Linked DNA regions of Homo sapiens: all the other regions are linked to region 2. The links are contacts of gene promoters, found by promoter capture Hi-C in human tissues and cell types (Jung and others, 2019). All regions are on one chromosome and are shown on one strand. Each heading gives the region's core, a stretch centred on a gene start or on the middle of the fragment in contact. The rest is flanking DNA. Distances are from core to core; before and after follow the strand shown.

The links. The method cuts DNA at HindIII sites, captures the fragments that hold promoters and counts their contacts. A contact is called where the count stands out against the background at its distance.
Region 1: a contact is called between a fragment that was not itself captured here and the fragment with the promoter of OTUD7A in region 2, in 2 of the 25 tissues and cell types used here (IMR-90 fibroblasts and dorsolateral prefrontal cortex).
Region 3: a fragment that was not itself captured here is called in contact with the fragment with the promoter of OTUD7A in region 2 in 3 of the 25 tissues and cell types used here (IMR-90 fibroblasts, dorsolateral prefrontal cortex and lymphoblastoid cells).
Region 4: a contact is called between a fragment that was not itself captured here and the fragment with the promoter of OTUD7A in region 2, in 4 of the 25 tissues and cell types used here (H1 embryonic stem cells, IMR-90 fibroblasts, dorsolateral prefrontal cortex and 1 more).

The regions. Positions count from the first base shown.
Region 1 is chr15:31,585,302-31,588,172 of GRCh38, forward strand. All of the region lies in intron 3 of OTUD7A (OTU deubiquitinase 7A), which reads right to left. Among named protein-coding and RNA genes, the nearest start is that of KLF13, 260 kb to the left of the region's middle. The HindIII fragment of the contact is 6,043 bases long and covers 1-2,871 here.
Region 2 is chr15:31,869,244-31,872,440 of GRCh38, forward strand. OTUD7A (OTU deubiquitinase 7A) reads right to left here and starts at 1,430. Exons shown (of 13, transcript NM_001382637.1): 1 at 1,264-1,430. RefSeq lists a silencer at 1,393-1,462. The HindIII fragment of the contact is 13,679 bases long and covers 1-3,197 here.
Region 3 is chr15:31,552,076-31,555,118 of GRCh38, forward strand. The region is part of intron 5 of OTUD7A (OTU deubiquitinase 7A); the gene reads right to left. Among named protein-coding and RNA genes, the nearest start is that of KLF13, 230 kb to the left of the region's middle. RefSeq lists an enhancer at 2,233-2,816. The HindIII fragment of the contact is 6,972 bases long and covers 1-3,043 here.
Region 4 is chr15:31,568,964-31,572,286 of GRCh38, forward strand. It overlaps OTUD7A (OTU deubiquitinase 7A), which reads right to left. Exons shown (of 13, transcript NM_001382637.1): 4 at 1,055-1,234. Among named protein-coding and RNA genes, the nearest start is that of KLF13, 240 kb to the left of the region's middle. The HindIII fragment of the contact is 6,458 bases long and covers 1-3,323 here.

The DNA of each region.
Region 1 (2,871 bases), core at 136-2,635, 280 kb before region 2:
AGGTTCTCAAATGACAAACATTCATGCGAGGCGTGGAAGGCAGCAGGAGAAGTCTTCGAATACTGAGGTTAGCTGCGAGCAGAAACAGACAGCTTCTGGCCCAGCTCTGGGGAATCTCATCCTCAGCAGCCCAGATGGTGACAGTGGCTCTGCCTGTGAGTCATGCTGCACCCAGGAGAATACCTACAGGTGAGCTGCTTCGGTGCTCTGGGGCAGTAGGCTGTGACAGCACAGTGCGTCCCCACCCGGCATCCCCAGGGTTGAGAGCTTGACCTTTGAGTTATGTGTTTCTATCTGCGGCTTCCCTGCCCTTCACTCCTCTACCCTTCCAGCTGGGGTGCAAGCCTCTAAGTGGTGGTCTGAAAATCCTTCTCACTTGCAACCTCCAGATTCTTATGTGCTCCAGAAAGAGCCCCGGCTGTATTCATATGTGTATACATATATGTGTATACATAAAGATGTATATGTACATAGGTGTCTACAGACCACTATTTGAGCTTGGAGAAAAATATGGAAGAACACATACTAGCTTGCTCACATGGGTTTCCGGGAGTTGTAATGACATCAATAGAGAGAGGAAGGAGGGATTGGGATGAGCCAAGCAACAAAGAAGACTTTTTCTAGAAACAAATGATATATATGTTATGATACCATTCATGCAAAATGACATATGCATGTGAATATAAATGTATACATTAAAATAGAAGAAAGGCAGGTAGGGTCAGGATGGTCCCTCAGCAGGAATTCTGAAGGTGAGGCTACGCTGGTTCACCCTATGGAGAAAGGCTCCTGCCAGTTACGATTACTATTAACCCTTCCTATTACTCTAGGAGTGAATCCATTTATCTGGTTTCTTTCCTCCAGGATAGAATGACCAAAGAAGGGAAATGCAGGCAGAACATAAAGACTCTGCAGACAGCGCAGATGTGGTGGGTGGGAGGCTTAGCCTCAGCTTTTATAGTCAATTTCTTTAAATGAATTTACCCTGAATTTAAATGAAAGTCTAAATTCCATACATACAGTGTGAATAGCTCACATACCTATCAATTTACAACATGGCTATGGTGTGTTAGATAGCAAGTCCTAGAAGGACTGAGGGTAGGGTTTTCTGCACAGCAGCCCCCCAGGGCTGTGGGTACCACAGGCATTCACTCAGGGGTGGGAGTCAGAAGAGCGGGGAGTGTCAGGGGCCAGATTTTGGCCACAGCCCTGCTGTGAGCTTGCCTTGTGACTTTGGGCAACTTCTGCCTCCTCTTTGAGTCCCAGTTTTGGCAATGTTAAGGAGAGATGGTTGAGATTCATCTCTAAGGGGCAGTGTAAGTCTGAAGAGTCTGAAAGTTAAAAACAACACGATTGGCCCACTCTCCTCATTTTCCTCTCATTCCCCGACTCCCACCACTCCCCTTACACCACCCATGTCCCTAGCACTGATGGCCTGCACTTTGCCAACCCCAGGAACACTGAGAGCTAGCCACTCCCTTAGCCATGTTCTTCTTGGCATCTGGGATGCCACATTCCCTTGGCTTGCCCCCTCTCCACTACTGCTCAGCTGGGTCTCCCCTGCTGGGTCCTCCTCCTCCTCCTGGCCTCTGCTTGCTGAAGGGCTCCAGCCCCAGGACCACTGCTCTTCTCCACCCACATTGCCCGCCAGGGCTGCTCGCTGTGAGTGCCATCTAAATACTGATGACTCCTGGAGTTTTGTCCTCAGGCTAACTCTTGACTCACACATCCAGCTCCTGACTCAACACCTCTGCTCGGCTATCTAAGAGCATCCCAAGCCTAACACAGCCTAAGCCAAAGATCCATGCATCATGCTTGACTCTGTTCTTACCCTCACACCCGACATCAGCAAGTCCTTGCAGCTTCACCTTAAAATATGCATTCTTGATCTAATCATAATCAAAATCTCTACCATTGCCACCCTAGGTTGGCTGCATCTCTTGCTTGGATTATTGCCAGAGGCTTCTGGTTCCTCTCCTTACTTCCACCCCAGTGTGCCCTGTCACCTGTTCTCCACAGGACAGCCAGAGTGGCCCTTTGAAAATGTAAATCTTGGCCGGGCGCGGTGGCTCACGCCTGTAATCCCAGCACTCTGGGAGGCTGAGGCAGGTGGATCACGAGGTCAGGAGTTCAAGACCAGCCTGGCCAAGATGGTGAAACCCCGTCTCTACTAAAAAAAAAATACAAAAATTAGCCAGGTGTGGTGGCAGGCGTCTGTAATCCCAGCTACTCGGGAGGCTGAGGCAGGAGAATTGCTTGAACCCAGGGGGAGAGGTTGCAGTGAGCTGAGATTGTGCCACTGCACTCCAGCCTGGGAAACAGACTGAGACTCCATTTCAAAAAAAAAAAAAAAGAAAATGTAAATCTTATCATGTTCCTCTCCTTTGAAACCCCAGGGACTTTCAATCACTTTCCAAATAACTTCGGAGTCTTCCCCATGGCCTCCAGGCCCTTGGCAATCTGGCCCCGGGCACCAAGTGACTTCGCCTGCTGTCCCTCTTTGGGCTCCAGCCACTCTGACCTGGGCCAGGGCTTTCTGCCATAGGGCCCTAACGCTCACTGTTCCTTCTGCTTGGATTATGCATTCTCAAAATATCTGCACTCTTTCTCCCTCACTTCATTGTGGTCTCTCCTGAGCTATCACCTCATCAGAAAGGCTCTCCCTGACCTTTTTATCTAAAATACCCTGTGTCCTGGCATCCAGCAATCCCACTTGTTGGTATAATCCCTACAGAAATGCCCGTACATCTGCCATATGCACATAGAGCCACTAAAGATGCATACAGCAGCCCTGTTCATAACAGCACAAAAGAGAAACAAGTCAAATGTTCATCAAAAGTAGAATGAACAAATACATTTGGTTTATTCAAA
Region 2 (3,197 bases), core at 180-2,679:
TTGGGTCTTGAAGAGGCCTTTGAAGCTGGTGGGACACACGGCTGCTGGGAGGACCCTAGTGAACCTGCCTCCCCGCCTTCGCCCAGGGCAGGCTTCTCCGGGCACACCCTGGAGGAGGAGGAGGAGGATGGTGAAGGACACCTGCAGATTTTCCTGAAGCAATTAAGACCTGTAAAGATTTAGGCCCCGCTGTCAACCTTTTCCTGGACACATTATCTGCCTCATCATATTTTTAAAAATTGTTCCTCTTACAGCCCACTTCCATTTACAAAGGTATCACCTGGCGGTAACCATGTGCATGTCATACATGACTTTCCCCTGGATCCTTGTGCTGTGGATGAAGCGTTTCCCTGATCGGGGTCTCACAAGTTTCCCTTCAGCTACTCTTAAATCTATACATTCTCAAGCCAATAGACAGAAATAAAAGTCATTTGCACTTGTGTGAGGTAGCTGAGTTTACAGAGCAGAGGCAAATCCATTTTATTACAGAGATTCTCAAAGGGCTGCAATAGCTTCACCGGGAGGGAGGAGGGTACACTTGAGCGGTTGTGTCCAATGAAGGAAAGTTTTAGTTAATGATGACATCACTGACATCTCCCAAATTTAAAGGAGCACTTAAAGCACCGCAGATGCAATTTTTTCCCCTCCAGTGAGGAGATACTAGGGAAGGCCTCTGGGTTCACAGCCAAATTGCCTTAATGGTTTGCCTGCTGTCCAGCGAGACCCAGCAGAGCGAGCGGGACGGCGGTGCGCCGGGCCGCGGGGACCCACGCAGTCACAGCTCCGGTGCCCGGCGAGCGGCCTCGCGCGCGGCTCGGGGCCGGGCCCTGCCCGGCCGTCTGCAAGAGCCGCGGGACCCCCGACGCGCGCGCACGGACCGAGGGGTCGGTCGCCCCACGCCTGGCATCACGTTCCAGTGCGGACAGCCAAAGGGCTGAGCGGAGGCAGCAGCCCCGACCCAGCGGTAGCGCCGCGCCCTGCCCGAGAGAGGCGCGCCACGCCGGGCCGGAGCCGGTGGCCCGGGAGCCCGCGGGGTCCGGAGCGGAGCCCGCAATGCAGACGCGCCGGCGAGCCCAGCCGGGGCCCGCGCCCCCCGCGTCCCCGCGCCCCGGCCCCGCGGTCGCCCGGCCTCAACGCCCACCTGCCTCGCCACGGAGCTCGGGAAGGAGACGGCGCCGGCCCCGCGCCCGGAGAGCGCACCTGCCTGGTCCGCGGGCCCGGCCCCGCCGCCCGCCGGCAGCACCGCGGCCAGCGCCGTCTTACCTGCCGCGCCGCGCCGCTCCGCTCCGCCAGCCCGCAGCGCCGCAGTCGCCGCTACCCGACTTCCATTTTCTCTCGCTTTAAAGGAAAACCAGATCAGCTGTTTTGCTCCCGCTCGGGCTCCGCGGCCCCCTCCCCAGCTGCCGCTCGCGGTCCCGGTGGCCTCTCCTCCCCCGCCTCCTCCCGCGCTCCGCTCCGCCCCTCGCGCCCCTCCGCTCCGCCCGCGGCCGCGCACAACGCCCGCCTCCCGGCTCCGCCTGCTGCCTCCGGGCGCGCGCCCTCCTCTGACGTCACCGGTCGCGTTCGCGCCCCGCCCCCGCCCCGCGCGGACGTGCGCGCGCCGCGCCTGTGCCCCGCCCCCGCCCCTCCGGGGCCGGGCACGGAGAGCGCGTGCTCGCGGCCGCGAGCCGAGGAGGGGACGTACAGCGCCCGCGCGCCCGCGAGCCCGCTCCGGCTCTCCCATGCTTGCCCCTCGGGGTGCTCCTTCTGCGCTCTCCGCCTGGACTGCAGGAAAAGGCTGCTTAAACAGCCTGCCTTTTCCTGCTGCCTGACTCGCGCCATCTGCGGCCACCTGTCTCGTTTCTTCCCCCTGGCTGGCGCACCCTTCCTTCCTAAACATCCCAAACTTTCTCCCACCCAGGCTGTCCAGGCTGCAGTTTCTACGCCCTGCGCTGGGGCCTGTGCATCACGCCTAATCCAAAGCTGGTCCTTTTACCTCCCAAAAAGGTTCTCTGACCTTTTCCCATTTTTTGCCTTCCTCTAAAGACTTTTTCACGCCACCCCTTCAGATGGTTCCCCTCCCTGATGGCAAGACCTGCTCGCTGCTCTGGGCCCTTCTCACGTCACCCTGTAGATGTAGTCACGCTTCCTTATCCCAAACAGGACGTTATATTGCAGATGACCCATACCATCCTGGTGTACTTCTAAACAATCATTATTTTACTTTTAGTTTAGGACTTTTTGCTTGACTTTAAACATTGTATATGTTTAATAGTGTTTAATAATTTATTTGACTTTTAAAATTGATATTCAGTAAAATTGGTTATTTGATATATAATCCTGTGATCTTGAACCCTTGTTTGGATTCATGTAACCACTAGCGCAATAAAGAGCTCCCTAGTTCTGCCCTTTTATAACAGCGCCCCCGCCAACCCTAACTTTTGGTAACCACTGATAGGTTCTCCATTGCTACGGTTTTGTCTTTGTGAGTGTGTCGTATACATGGAATTACGCAATATGTAACATTTTGAAACTGACTTTATTCCCTCATCATTATACCTTGGAGATTCATCCATGTTATTGTGTATAGTAATAGTCCTTTTTATTGTTGAGGGGAGTCTCATTATTTGTACCACATTTTGTTTAGTCACCCACTGGAGAATATTTGCGTGGTTTCCAGTTTTTGGCGACTGTGAATAAACATTCTATAAACATTTGCATGCAGCGTTTTGTACGGACAAATTTTTTAAATTAGTTGACTAAATATCTAGGAGTGCAATTGCTAGATCTTATGGTAAATTTGTTTAACTTTATAAGAACCAAACAGTTTTCTAGAGTGGCTATAGCATTTTTATAACTGTCAGCAAATATGAATCCCTTTCCTTCATCCTCACCAGCACTTGATATTGGCTATCTTTATCTATCTATCTGTCCATCCATCCATCCATCCGTCTATCATCTATAATTTTAGACATTCTAGTAGGCATATAGTGCTATATCGTTGTTAATTTTCAATTTTCTACTGAAAAATTATGTGGAGCAACTTTTCATATGCACCTGTATATCTTCTTTGGTGAGATGTTTGTTCACATCTTTTGCCCATTAAAAAAAAAAGGTTGTTTTCTTATGGTTGAGTTTTAAGAGTTCTTTGTGTATTTTGGATAGAAGTACTTTATCTGATACGTGTTTTGCAGGTATTTTCTTCCAGTGGAAGCTTG
Region 3 (3,043 bases), core at 336-2,835, 320 kb before region 2:
CTATTGGTTCCCATGAGATGATTGTTAAAAAGAGTCTGGCACCTCCTCTCTTGCTCCCCTTCACATCATATGATACATCTGCTTCCCCTTCCCCTTCTGCCAGGACTGGAAGCTTCCTGAAGCCTTCACCAGAAGCAGATGCTGGCCCCATGCTTCTTGTACAGCCTGCAGAACTGTGAGCCAAATAAGCCTCTTTTCTTTATAAATTACCTGGTCTCAGGTATCCCTTTAAAGCAATGCAAATGGGCTATGACAATAGGATTTGAGACACCACAGGTGCTCAATGTTTACTAATGAATAATTGTAATGCTGGAGAAGATAACTTAGTATTTGGTCACAATTTAAATTCTTTATAGCAAAAAGTGTGAAGAAAGAAAAATAGGAAATACCACTCTATGAAAATAAAAAATTAGTAGAGGAGGCCATTTACTTGATGCTGAGTATGCATCCAGCCCTGTGCACACACGACCTCAGTTCATCTTCACAACAGCCCCACAAGGTGGGCTGCTTCATCACGACGTCACAGAGGAGAGCCTGACGCCCCCTCAGGGGGCTGCACAGGAACCACACTGTGACCACTACGCTGAGGAGATGTGAACCCTGGCCTCTGTCTCTCCCACACTCTGGCCCAGGCCCTATGCCCAGGGTTGCCCAACGCTGCACCTGGCCCACAAAGGAACGTGGTATTTCCAGGCTTGCCCAGAGTCGCAGCCGCGACTCTGCCTGACTGATGGGTGGAGGAAGCTCCAAAGCACAGCAAGGATGGGAAGGCAAACTTGGCAACTGGCCATGGGAGGAGCTGCCTTTGGAAGCAAGGAATGGTCCCAGGTAGCTAGGAGGCCAATGGAAGCCTCACGAGATGGAAGGCAAGGGAGTGTAAAAGTAGCTGGAGGAAAGAGATGACTCACAGCAGCCGATGGTGAGAGCTATAAGGAGAAGGGGAATGGAAGCCACTTCCTGACCTTTCTCTGTATCAAGCACAGTGCAGCATGGCTTCCCGAGAACCTTGCCCTCACAGTCAAACCCAGCGGTCAGTTTCTAGTGCACACTGACTTACTGGCATATTTGGCACCACTGATTGCTCCCTTCTTGAAACACCTTCCACCCTGGGCGTCAGGGTCACTATCCACCGCTGGTTCGCCCTGATTCCCAGGCCCGCACATTCCCAGTCTCTTCTGCTGGCTCCTTCTTCTGTTCCTCAGCCCTCAATACTGTAGGGCCCCAGCCTGAGTCTTTGGAAAGCTTGTTTTCTGTCCATGCTCCAGACAAGTGTGTCCAACTCATGCTCACCACTGCATGGAGCCAGGTTGGGGGCATGGTGGGAGGGTCCTACGAGGAGCTCACTCCGGGATCCCACGGGTTTCACTTTAGGGCACTAACTCCACATCTGCATCCCCAACGCAGGGCTCTCTCTGACTCCAGACCCTCATGTTCATCTGGGCAGCAACTTTACAAGTCTCACTACAGTCTCGGGCTTTGCCTGACAGTGCTGGCCTCTTCTTCTTGCCCTTCCTCCAGGGGTCTGCATCTCCTCAGGCAACATTATCTACCCCCATATTCAGGGTAACATTCTTAGGGCCATGCTGGACTCTTCCCTGCCTGCCAGAGCCCCAGCCCTCCATCATCAAGGCCTGTAGGTCTGCCTTCAAAACGTACCCCATAGCCGTGTCTCTCTACTGCCCCTCACCTGCACTACCACCCCCACGACCCTGCCAGCCGTCTCTCTCTGCCCTGGTCTGGAGCAACTGCCTCTCCCTGCTCTTCCAGCTTCTTCTCTTACCACCCCATAGTCCATTCTCCAGCAGCCAGAATCTGTCAGATGTGAATCAAGACGCGTCAGCCCCCGGCTCAAAACCCTCCAGGGGCTGCTTATCTACCTTCAGTGAAGCCTAAAGGACGAGGCTCCCTAGCGCCCGGCTCCCATTCTCCTGCCCTCCTTTCCAAATCCTCTCACCCTCGCTCCACCAGCTCAGGTGACACTGGCTTCCTTAAATATGCCAAGACTTTGATGTTAGACTCCCTCTGCCAGGAAAGCCAGGCCCGCAGGTGTCTGTTGCTGCCTCCCTCCCTGCCCTCCAGCGGCATCCCGGGATTCCCTCTCCTTCCTAACCTCCCCAGAGTAGCCTCTGAGGCCCCACTTCATTTTCATGCTCCCCTTGTTCATCGGCTTTCTTCCACTGGAATTTCACCTCCCTGAGGGCAGGGGTTTCATCTGCCTGGAGTGTGGAGGTAGCCCCAGACCTGGATGGGGCATTTCGTGGGCATTCAACACAGGCTGACACTGGGTCAATCTGTCTCCATTTGGCCGCCGTTACACATCTCTGACTTTCAGAGGGAAGGAAGTGAGGCTCCAGCCGGCCAAGTGACGTGGCCAAGCTCCCCCTGCCAATCCGGGCCTCAAGCCAGGGTCGGGCTGACTCAGAAGCCCACAAGCCTCCTCTGTAACTTACCATTCTCTGGCAGATTCCCCTCAATCCAATTATCCTCCCCTGGAGCACAACTCAAAGGTGTGCCTAGAGATTTTTCAACATGCGTTTCCATCTCCCATGTATGCAGTGACTCCTGCATTACACAAAAATGCCTCTGCCCTCTGCCCCCAGACACACTGAAGAACCACACCATCTCACCCACATGGTGGTTAGCTGCTGCCACAGGCAGCAGATGATACTTCCCAACCCAGAGACCCCGGTCTCCGAGCCATCTCCTGTGTAAATGCAGCAGGATCAGCTGATGGCAAAAGGAGTGGTTTCTTGCCTTCTCAATGGCAGGCTAGTCATTAAAGAACGAAAGGTGTTTCCCTTCCTCTCAGGAGGTCAGCTGGTTTTAGGCCCAGATGATCCGGCCCTTCTGTTGCCCTGAGACTGTCATGAGGTGGGAGTGGGTTGTGTTTTCCAGGGTTTGAAGACTTGGGGAAGACCAGTCTCCCAGATCTGTGGGTTTTATGGGAGTTCAGACTGGCACCCCACTTGACACAGAGGCCTCAAAAATAGACGGGGCTGCCTATGTGGCTCGGGAGGCCAGGCAGATACCACGCAGGGCCCCA
Region 4 (3,323 bases), core at 216-2,715, 300 kb before region 2:
GCCAAGAAATCCTCTTTTTAAAATAAATTACCCAACCTTAGGTATTTCTTTACAGCAGTGAAAGAATGGCCCAGCACACCATACATTGTAATTTCCAGTGCTGGCAAGATTGAAGGGAAACACCCGGTTTCACACATGGTGAGTAGCAATATATTAGGAAAGAAGCCCTAAAATTATTAAGCTAGAAACACACATGTGTTGGCACAGCAAATCCATTCTGGGAATGCAAACCCATAGAAACAAAAGCACCAGTATGTAAGATTAGAGGTATAAAGATGTTTCTTTCAGCATTGCTTTCAGTGGCAATTAACAAATAATAACAACGACAAAAACCCAAGCAAAAACAGAATCACCATGAATACAGCAGTGATCTAAAAATTAACACATTATAGAATAAAATGTAGCTATTGAGAGATTATGTTCATCATCTCCTGCTCAGTGAAACAAGCACTTTGCAGTGTGCTGTGCATTTGACTCTGATGTGTTTGATTTTGAACAATATAGCAAGAGGAGCAGGAGGAGACCACCAGAATGTTATCAGCCGTCATTACACTGGTGAGATCTGGGAGGTGTGGAGGCGAATGCTCTTAAGTTTTCCTCATATATCTCTGTATTGTTTCCTTTGTTATAATAAGCATATCTTACTTTCATAATGAAGAAAAAGGATAGAGAAGATGGAGCGCATGGGACAAGAAATGTGATGCTGAACAGACTTGGAGACTGTGTTACTTTGGAAATATGTGAAAGAACTAGAGATGTTTGGTCTGAAAAAACCAAGACTCCAGGAGGAATGCTGGCTTTTACTCACTTATTGGGCTTTTGGGGTCCTAGGAAATCAGACTCATTTTTCTGCTTTTCTGAGGTAGAGGTTGGAACCATGGATAGAAGCAACAAAGGACATTTCGGCATAGTGTGAGAAAGAAGGCACTGAGAGGCCAATATGTCTGCATCCGGGAGGTGATGACCCCACCATTCTTTGTACCACGCAACCCGCCTGCAAGCTGCGGTGCACTGGCCTGGGCGGCTGTGCCTAGGCTCAGTCCCTCAGCGGTACCTTGGGCAATGTCGTCCTGCCTCTGCAGGCAGGGTCGCTCCACCTTGTGCCCGGGCTGTGGCTCTCGCTCTGGCTGCTTGGGACCCCGCCCTTCATTGAACACATGTGGCAGATTGGCTGTGTGCACCTGGCGGAGCTGCTCATAGTCGCTCAGAGCGGCTGTCAGGTCCCAGTTTTTGCCTGTGGACAAGAAATGACAAGAGGTGACAATACGAACGCATGAATAACGGTCTCATCATAGAGAAGAACTGTGACAAGAAGGGTTTCCCATTAGGACATAAACTAATGAATTTTTACCAGTAGTTCTTGTTTTTCAAAGGGGAAAAATGGCCCTCTGCATGACTCTAAAAGCAGAATTTCACACCCATAAGTGACGTCCATCTAAAATATGTGACTATATACAGTCTCAGAGCCTTTAGGTTCATACACACACACACACACACACACACACACACACACACACACACACATCTAAACACTGCATCCCTGATCATCACATCCCCCTTTGAAAATCAAGTTGTAGAGCTTACTCTCTGAGGGGAACAAAGCATCAATTAAAGAAAAATGAATTGAAATAATTCTCAAAGTTTCTTTGGGCTTTTGCTCAGAGTTTTACTTTTTATTTTAAGCTTAATATGAGCGAAGCAGAAGCTTGGGAGGGATTCTCTTGTTAGTGAGCTTTGGTGGGAGATAGGCTTCTGAGCTCAGGCCCTGCACCAGGTGTGATGCCAGGCTGGGCAGGTGTGCCCAGCGTGGGTACGCACTCAGCAGGGCTCCCACCCCGACACGGGGTGCTGGACTGGCACTTCGCAGCACTAGGCACAGCTACACTGGGGAGTTGGAGGCAGCGTGGGCACTCTGATTCCCGACTCTGAGAGTCAGTGGGCTTGTAACGGCAGGAAGGAGTATCACACACTACACCCGATTCAGTTAGGCATCATCCTATAGCACGATTGGGCAACTATAGTTAACAATAACTTAATGTATATTTCAAAATAACTAGAAATGTAGATTTGGAATGTTCCCAACACAAAAGAAATGATGCATGTTTGAGGTGATGGATATCCCAATTAGCCAGATTTGATCATTATACATTGTAGGCTGGTATCAAAATATCACATCTGCCCCATCAATATACATATTGATGTATGTATATATCAATACATACAACTATTATGTATCCATAACAATTAAAAATTAAAAAATTTTAAAAAGAAATCAAAGAATTAAAAACTTAGCCTTAATTTTAAGGAGCAAATAAAAATAAGCTCTCTTCTCATCTTTTCCATTTTAAGTTACTGGGAACCCCAACAGATGTCACATCAAGTAAGGATGAGAAGGAAAGGCGCAGAGGCCCATGGTGAAACCTGAGGCTGGAAGACTGGGGCAGCCACAGGCTACATGTCCCTGATGAAGGAATGCAACCCAGAAGAACAGTCAAGAACACAGGTTCTAGGGCCTGGTTTTGAGCCCTGGTTCCACCTTCTAACTAATTCTCTGATGGTGAATATATCATTTCATCACCCAAGGCCTTGCATTCCTTCCTGTACAATTAGGATAACACAATCCATCTAATGAGAATTCTTATGAGGGTTAAATGAGAAAAGGAGATAGTGTTTGTAAAGTTCTTCCTTTATGGAAAGCACTAATACATGGTAGTTACCATTATTCTCATTAATTATAGGTTTCTGTTTTATGTTTAACTTCCAGCACTCAGAGTTAAAAGCCAGCTAGTAAGCAACGGAGCTGAGATTCAAATACACGGACTTATCTATACTCCGTGAGTTTCTCATTCAACTGTTACTAATGCCATCTCCCAAACACACTGAGGCCATAAAGTCCATGGGAGGGCAGTAGAAGCCTAATTCTAACATGGATATTTTCACACTTCCTCTTCTGCACCCTGGGACACTCTATGGTCCCTTCACTGTTTCCTTTGCCTCTTCCTGCCCTTAAAACACATGGATTCCCCTAATTTTTCTTCTTGCTCTTCTTTTCTCTTAATTTATACCCTCCTTTGAAGATTAATTCCATCTCTATGAGAATAAGCTTAATTCTAGTTACAACTTACATCCTAAGTTTTAAAGCCAAATATTTGACTATGGGAGATATTAGCTGACTATCCAATTTCTAGTCTCCTTATCTAATTCTATATGTTCAGAATTCTAATTTATTTTGGATAGCAATACACACAGCTGAAAATATTCATTTTCTCCTGCAGATCTTCAAACTGTATTCCTGTTGTCCTATCTTTCTGTATTTGCTTACT